2 separate regions of the Homo sapiens genome follow, and region 1 is linked to region 2. The links are contacts of gene promoters, found by promoter capture Hi-C in blood cells and fetal thymus (Javierre and others, 2016). All regions are on one chromosome and are shown on one strand. The core of a region is centred on a gene start or on the middle of the fragment in contact, and the rest is flanking DNA. Distances in the headings are between cores, read along the strand shown. Region 1 holds the start of ATXN7L3 (ataxin 7 like 3). Region 2 holds the start of CCDC43 (coiled-coil domain containing 43).

What was found. Contacts are between HindIII fragments. The CHiCAGO score rates a contact against its expected background, and 5 or more counts as called.
Region 1: a contact is called between the fragment with the promoter of ATXN7L3 here and the fragment with the promoter of CCDC43 in region 2, in 2 of 17 cell types (M2 macrophages and M0 macrophages). The highest score is 5.9, in M2 macrophages.

The regions. Positions count from the first base shown.
Region 1 is chr17:44,198,576-44,202,767 of GRCh38, forward strand. It overlaps ATXN7L3 (ataxin 7 like 3), which reads right to left and starts at 1,309. Exons shown (of 13, transcript NM_001382309.1): 1 at 921-1,309. It overlaps ATXN7L3-AS1 (ATXN7L3 antisense RNA 1), which reads left to right and starts at 265. Exons shown (of 2, transcript NR_184071.1): 1 at 265-355. RefSeq lists enhancers at 1-126, 331-886, 1,612-2,150, 2,151-2,688 and silencers at 448-1,057, 1,158-1,957. The HindIII fragment of the contact is 7,751 bases long and covers 1-3,327 here.
Region 2 is chr17:44,688,439-44,692,171 of GRCh38, forward strand. CCDC43 (coiled-coil domain containing 43) reads right to left here and starts at 1,338. Exons shown (of 5, transcript NM_144609.3): 1 at 1,112-1,338. The coding sequence starts at 1,315. It overlaps LOC105371792 (a long non-coding RNA gene), which reads left to right. Exons shown (of 4, transcript XR_007065769.1): 4 at 503-575. LOC124904010 (a long non-coding RNA gene) reads left to right here and starts at 1,343. Exons shown (of 2, transcript XR_007065770.1): 1 at 1,343-1,416; 2 at 1,557-1,872. RefSeq lists enhancers at 1,071-1,660, 1,329-1,468. The HindIII fragment of the contact is 1,709 bases long and covers 251-1,959 here.

The DNA of each region.
Region 1 (4,192 bases), core at 59-2,558, 490 kb before region 2:
ACTTGGGGGGGTACTGCTACCAGAAGTAGAAATGGCCCTAGGACCCTACAACCTTCACCCCACTCTGTCTTCCCTTGAAATCAGCCTGCCACTCCACGAGGGGAGCAGAGCCCACAGGAGCCTAGAGCTAAGGGACATTTCTAGCCACCATGAGCAGGAACGGCGGGGGGTGGGGGGGAAGAGCCTGGTAGGGTGGCACGCCAGGAGCGGGCACTCCCCTTACCTGTTCTTCCTTTAAATAACCACCCGCCCTCCCTCAGGACCAGCCCGGAAGTCTCTCCAAGAGCCCCAAAGTCCAGGAACCCCCACCCAAGGATTCAGACACAGAACCCACAACCCAGGGCCCCTCGGAACGGTGGGTACGAGTTTCAGGAGCTGCCGGCCTAGAGTGGGGTGGGGACTGACGAATGAGCCGGGGGCACTGGGAAGGGTAGGAGGCCGGGCCTCGGCTCTTCCCCCGTCCCTGCGGCACTGCTGCTGCATCATACCGACTGGGGGGAGGACAGCCGAGCCGCCGGGGCCGGCGCCGGGCCGGGACAGACCGACCCCCAGAGAGTGGGACGCGTCCCAGCCCCTCTCCTTCCCCGCCCGCCAGCAGCCCCGGCCGGCCGGGGAGAGGAGTCCGGGAGGGTGTCTCTATTGTCCCGGGGGCTGGGGCCTGGCTCCCTAACAAAGGCCCCGCGCCCCCTCCCCGGCCGGCCCTGCCCCGCCCAAGGGGGACCCAGACGGGGGAGAGCCAGGGGCCCCGGCCCGGCCGGGAAGCTGGGGGAAGCCGGGCGTTTCCGCGTCGGCCCGGGGGGAGGGGAAGGGGCGCTGACCCAGACCTGGGGGGAGGGGGCCCAAGCCCCGCCTTGGGCCCCGCCCCCCGCCCCCCACAGGCCCCTCCCCCGTCCCCGTCCCCGTCTCCGTCCCGTACTCACCCCGCCCGGGGGGCCGCGCCGGGGCCCGGCAGCCTCTCAGGGCCGCGTCCTCCGGCGGCGGCGACGGCGGCGGCTGCTCCGGAGCCCCATGTCCGTCGGTCCGTCCTCGCCTCTCCCCGGGGCCCAGGGCCCGGGGCCGGGGGGTCGGGCCGCCCCCCCGCCTGGCCGCCTCACCGGGCGGCCATGGCCCCTTCCCCTCCCTTCTTGTCCCGTCGCCGCCTCCTCCTCCTCACCTCACCCCGCCCGCGCGCAGTCCGCGCGCCGTCCGCGCGCCCCTCCCCCCGCCCCCCACTCCAGCCCGCCTCTCCCGGGCGGGGGGTGCGGCGCGAGCCCGGAGCGCGCGCGCGTGTGCCGCGACCGGAGGATGGATGGATGGAGCGAGCGTGAACGCGAGCGTGCGCGCGCGCGCCCCTCTCCCCCTCCCTCTGCGCGGGCGCGAGGCCAAGCGCGAGCGCGCTCCAACCTCCTCCTCTTCCTCCTCCCGCCCCTCCCCAACACCCCGCCCTCCCCCTCCCTTCCTCTTCCTTCTTTCGCTTTCGCGCGCCCAGCGACTGCTCGCGCCTGCTAGAAGGGCCCGAGCGCGTGCATCTGCCCCGCGGCCGCAGCTCGGCAGCATTTGCTCCAGGGGGCGGGGACCGGGAGGGGAGGAGGGGCGCCACGCCGCCGTCCAAAGTACCGGCGGACGGGGACGGGGGCGGAGAGATGGGCGGGGCCTTCGCGGACCTCCCCGACCAATCGCAGGGAGGCCTCGGCCCGGGAGGACCAATAAGATGGGGGTGGGTGGGGCGGCGTTCAAGGTGAGGTGCGCGGTGCGCTGGGGGCGGAGACGTTTTGCCGTCCCGGCCGGCTCGGGGGCGGGGGCAGCGGGTGGCGTCGAAAGAGAGCGCCGGCTGCCAGCCGAGCCTGGGACGCCTTCCGGCCCAGGCTCCCCCGCCCTTCCCTCGGGGCTCCCCGCTCTCTCCCCCGCCACCCTCCGCTCCCCCCTTTACCCCGAGGCGTGCAGCCACTTCTGTGAAGAGGCCAGACTTGAAGTGGGGCGCAGTTAGGACCTCGGGGCGGAAAGCCTGTGGAGCCTAAGGGGCTCGCCCGCGCCTCAGTTCTCCCGGTTTCTGGGCGGGTCTCAGCCCACTCCAGGCTTGCGGACCAACAAGCGGCCGAGATGAGGGTCCGCTGCTGAGGTCGGAGGCCGAGCTGCGCCCTTCTGCGCGGAGCGCCCTCCCCGCCCCTCGTCCTAATTTAGATCCCACACCTGCTCGCCTTTCCTGCTTCCGGAACCCACGCTGGACCCCCACCCCTCCAGACAGCCTCCTTGTCACTGGCCAGATCCTTCCCCCGACCCAGTGCTGTTCCCCTGGGTGCAGCGTGTCCCTGTGCTCACGCTCTCAGTCCCTCTTTACCTTAGGAAGGGACAGGCCTTTTCCCAGCCGCGGTGGATGGCTGGATTGGCGCTTTCATCTCGGTTACTCTGTGTGTGGTGTCCTGGAACGGTTGTGTGACAGCCCTCTCCCCTCAAGAGATAAGATTAAAAAGGAGGATAGTCTGTAATCACATACTTGGAGCCATCTTTGGTTTTTAGTTTTCAGCAAATACTTATTTTTTTCTCACCGATTTCTCCCGAGAAACAGCAAACATTTATTGAGGCGATATTCCAGAGTAGTTCAGATCAGGCGTCTGATTTGAATTTAAATCGTTGGGCCTAGCAAATGAGTTTCCTGTGCCTCAGTTTCCTCTGTTGTCAGTGGGCATAATGATAGTCCTATCTCCTTGCGTTGCTGTAGTGATTAACAAGTCAGTGCATGTGAAACTCTTAGCTCTGTGTAAGTGCTTGGTAAATCTTAGCTGTTATTCTCACGGTGCTCCAGGTGCTGGGATAAAAGATGATATAAGACAGTTGTGCTTCTTCAAGAAGTTCACTGTCTTGTGGATAGATAGGTAGGATAATAATTGCAAAACAGTGTGAGGAAAACAACAGAGAGAAAACAGAGGTAGACAAAAGGAGACATCAAATGATGTAAGAGAGTTGGTCAAGAAAGGCTTCTTGGGCAGGGTGCGGTGGCCCAGGCCTGTAATCCCAGCACTTTGGGAGGCCAGGAGTTCGAGACCAGCCTGCAAAAATGCAAAAATTAGCTGGGCGTGGTGGCGGGCTCCTGTAATCCCAGGAGCTACTCGGGAGGCTTAGGCAATAGTAGTAATCCAGCTACTCGGGAGGCTTGGGCAGGAGAATCGCTTGAACCCGGGAGGCGGAGGTTGCAGTGAGCTGAGATTGCGCCACTGCACTCCAGCCTGGGCAACTGAGCGAGACTCCGTCTCAAAACAAAACAAAAAAGAAGAAAAAGAAAAACTTCTTATAGAGGGAGATGAACCAGGTGAAGGTAGGCCAAGAAGGCATTGGACATCCCCAACTGGAAGCTTCAGAAGCATGGATCAAGCTGGAACAGAGGAGTGGGTGGCAGAGCAGCAGGAGGTGAGCAGGCTGGATAATACAGGACAAAGCAAAGTAGGTGTTGAAAAGTTTGTGGGCTTTAGCCTGTAAGCTGTGAGGAGTCCTCAAGGGGAATCATTCACCAGACTTATATTTTTAGTGGATCATGCTGGAGTATGGTCTGGAGAATAATTTAGAAGCAGTAGGTTTTTTGTTTTGTTTTGTTTTGTTTTTTTAGACAGCATTTTGCTCTGTCACTCAGGTGCAATCTCAGCTCACGGCAACTTCTGCGTCCCGGGTTCAAGTGATTCTCATGCCTCAGCCTCCTGAATAGCTGGGATTACTGGCGCACGCCACCACGCTCGGCTAATTTTAGTTTTGTATTTTTAGTACAGACAGGGTTGCACCATGTTGGCCAGGCTGGTCTCGAACTTCTGACCTCAGGAGATCCGCCTGCCTCAGCCTCCCAAATGCTGGGATTACAGGCATAAACCACTGGGCCTGGCAAAAGCAGTAGGTTTTTGTTACTGATTGAGGTGTGTGGAGGAAAGGAGAGGGAGGTCTTGAAAACACCTTTACTAGGATGGGGAACTCAGGGGAGGACATGGGAGGACACAGGATGACTTCAGTCTGGGATATATTGAGGTTACTGTGGGATCAGCTGATGGAGACCCAAAAGGTGGTTGAACTCAGGTCTGGCACAGAGAAGTAAGCTAGGTCTTCAGGAACTTCAACAACATCGCCTCAACCTTTGTTTTCTCTTATCTCCCGCCTCCTTTTCAGGAATTCTTCACTCCAGTGATGCTGATCTGTTTCTTACCTAAATATGCCCAGTACATTCTGCCCTAAG
Region 2 (3,733 bases), core at 88-2,587:
CACTGTGCCCCACCTCATGGTACATTTTGATTCTATTACTAGCCTTTCAAAATTGGTTTTGAGAATAACAAAGAACCCATTTTTCTAACCTGTCCATTGTAATAAATGCCAGAGGATAAAGCCTTTGATGGACAGACAGGTGGCTCTCACAGTAGCAATCAGGTATCCAGGATCTCCTCTAATCCATGAATGCAGAGACAACTCTAGCTTCTACAGCATTTAGTGATGATTCAAGTAAATTTTATTTTTAAGCTTGTATTTAAAAGGAAACAATTTGTTAGACAGCCACAGGTAGCACCTACAACCAATTTAATCTGTAATAACCAGTCTAATAAGTGTGTATGTTGGAGGTGTGGGAAGTGAAGATGAAGGCAGCAGAAATGATCAGGTTGAAAAAGTGGACATCTGGGTGACTTACTATGTAAACATAGCTTAAAGTACACATTTCTGAATACCTTGCTTCTAACAGGCTAAGGACTAAGTTTCTCTCTCTTCGTTAAAGCTCTGATCTCTCTCATACCCTCCTTCCCACCACCAATGATTACTGTAAATACTGTAATGGATCAAGCACGACGTTTGCTTCAGTTCTGCGTGGGCATGAAAAGACTTCTACCACCAGCTTACCTTTTATGGACTCCTACATCCATATAAGAATCAAAAGGGCACTTCCTGCAGGCTTCTGTCATGGGACAGCCCTGGGAACTGCCTTGTAATAGGCACAGACCTCCCAAGAGCATTTTAATACCCCCAGTGAACACTGTAAACGGATGGAAATGGAATTGGTCGTCAGATATTTATGATAACATTCCCATTCTGACATTTCAATGCCTTCGGAAGAACCCTCCTCGGCTCACTCACAAGCATCGGAGAGGGCCTTGTCCCCAAGAATACGAGAAAGCCCTTCCTCTCTGTGTACCTGCAGCTTTCAGGCTTCCCACACCTGGTTGGGGAGCAACCTCCTTCCCCCGCCGCCCAGATATCAGAGGAGTATACCTCTCCCAGGTGAGACCACTGAGCCTCTGGGATACCCGGTAGGGGAGGGAGGGTGCAAAGTACTGACAGGTCCTCAGATGCTGGCCAGAGGCTGAAGGAATGTGTCCAGGCTACTCACCAGGAAAGCAGAGAGGATCCCCTGCAGAGCGTCCAGCTTCTCTTCTTCCTCCTCCTCCTGCAGGATACCCAAGATGTAGGCTCCATAAACGGCTCGGTCCACTCCCAGTGCCTCCAACCGTCCGTCCAGCCAGGAGCCAAAGCCGCCGCCTCCGCCATCGCCTTCGCCAGGGGCTATCGCGGCCACTTCGCTGGGCGCCGCCATCTTGGGGTCAGGGTCCTGCAAGCCCCTAGGGCGCCTACCGCAGTGCCTGACGGGCCGCGCCGCAGGTCCACCGCGCATGCCTGAAGAGGAAGCCCAGGCCCGTAAGTGCAAAGAGCGCAGCCGTGTCGGCCGGCTTGAGAGTTTTGTGCTTTCTAGATGAAGCGCGTCTTCGCATACGTGCGGTCGCGTGATCTCACAAGATGCTTGGCATGTGAGTATTCTTAACAGACTCATTCTACAGTTCGGGAAGTTGAGAGAGGTGCAGTAATTTGGCCAAAGTCACGCGGCTAATAACTACCCAGGACTGGAGCTCAGCGTGGATGCCATCGCTTCCTCCACCCGACCGAGCTGCCTTCCCCGCGCTTTCGGGGGATGCTGGCCGCCCACTCCCACACAGCTGTCTGGCAAGAACCTCCTGACAGCCTGGAATACCCTCGTCGTCGCTACCGACGGCTACCACCTTCACCTGTACAAGCCCTTCCCTGTCAAAGTAAAGGTTGCAGAAAACCTTCCCTGATTCCATGGTAGGCACTCAGTAAATAAACAGGCAACCTCAAGTTATTTCTTCCACTCATTGATTCAACGCGTGCACGGGACTATTCTTTGAGAAGCGTACCCCACCCTCTGCTAGGCACTGTGCCAAAAGCTTTTCATGCATTATCTCTTGTAATCCTCCCTACAGCCCTGTGGGGAGATGCTTTTATTGTCCACATTTTAAAGATAAGGAGACAGGCCGGGCGCCATGTCTCACGCCTGTAATCCCAACAGTTTGGGAAGCCGAGGCGGGTGGATCACCTGAGGTCAGGAGTTCGAGACCAGCCTGGCCGACATGGTGAAACCCCGTCTCTAGTAAAAATACAAAAATAAGGCCGGGCACGGTGGCTCACTCCCGTAATCCCAGCACTTTGGAAGGCCAAAGTGGGCAGCTCACCTGAGGTCTGGAGTTCGAGACTAGCCTGACCAAAATGGAGAACCCCCGTCTCTACTAAAAATACAAAATTAGCCGGGCGTGGTGGGACATGCCTGTAATCCCAGCTACGTGGGAGGCTGAGGCAGGAGAATCGCTTGAACCCAGGAGGCGGAGGTTGCGGTGAGCAGAGATCGTGCCATTGCACTCCAGCCTGGGCAACAAGAGCGAAATTCCGTCTCAAAACAAACAACAACAACAACAAAAGCCAGGTGTGGTGGCGCGGGCCTGTAATCCCAGCTACTCAGAATCGCTGGAACCCGGAAGGCGGAGGTTGCAGTGAGCCAAGATCGCGCCGCTGCACTCCAGCCTGAGCGACAGTGAGACTCCATCTCAAAAACAAACAAACAAACGAACAAACAAAATCACTAAAGATAAGGAGACAGATATGGAGAGAGTCACACAACTAGAGGGCGCCTAACCAGTGGCAAGAACTCTTCTTTGGCAGAGTTATGAGAGCTTCAGCTGACGTCAAAACACCTGGCTCTGGGCTGGAATGAATTACCCAAGAATTTGGTTGGCTTTAGCTGAAGTGCAGAGGAAGCTGGCAAGGTCCTGGCTAACTCCTTCCTCAAATATGTACTGAGTACCTTCAGTATGGCATTGTTGCTGGCACTGAAAACACAAAAATGAATGTCACAAAATATATGTCCTCAGGGGTTTTTAATCCATTAGGAACAGACATGTTTAAACAAATGATGACAATATAGTGATATAAATGTTTTAATGGAGCTTTATCTAGCGGAGATTGCAGTAGGATGCCTAGAAGATTGAGTTAACTTTACCTGTTGGAGTGGAGTTGGAAGCAGGTGGGGAGAGGTTCATAGGAAATCCAGGAAGGCTTCCCAGTGGAGATGATGCTTGAACTTTCTTGAAGAATGGTAGGAGTTCTTTACATAAAGGGACTGGAGGGAAAAAGGGGGTAGATCCAGATGCAGGGGAACTGTGAATTCAAAGGCTTGCTAGGGGGCCTCCAGAGAGTCATGTATGGCTTGAGCTACAGGATTCAAATAGAAGATATTCAGGGGATAACAACAAAAAAAGAAGGAAAGGAGTTTGTATACCTTGCAGAGGTCCTCTTATTGCAGAGGTCTACCCTTAGTGGCATTGGGATTATGTAAATGAATGGACACTAAATGAATGGCACAGATACAAATGTAAGAAATATGGCAGAGTGTGAATTTTAGTTGCGTGGCTTCTGTGTGCTCGCTGAGTTAGATAGAATGTGACACTAACAGAGTCAGAGGCCAGAGTCAGCCTCCAAAGGCTTGCCTCTTTTTCAAGTCCTCAGTTATTCTTTCTAATCTAGTAGCTGTCTTGCAGGTAGGGCTTGTCAGTTCACAGACCTGGGTGCCATCATGGCTCAAGGATGATAGCTGGTCAGTGCAGAGCCCCCAAACCAGAAAAACATCACAAAATTTTGTTTTTTAGAAATACAGCCTCACAAGAAG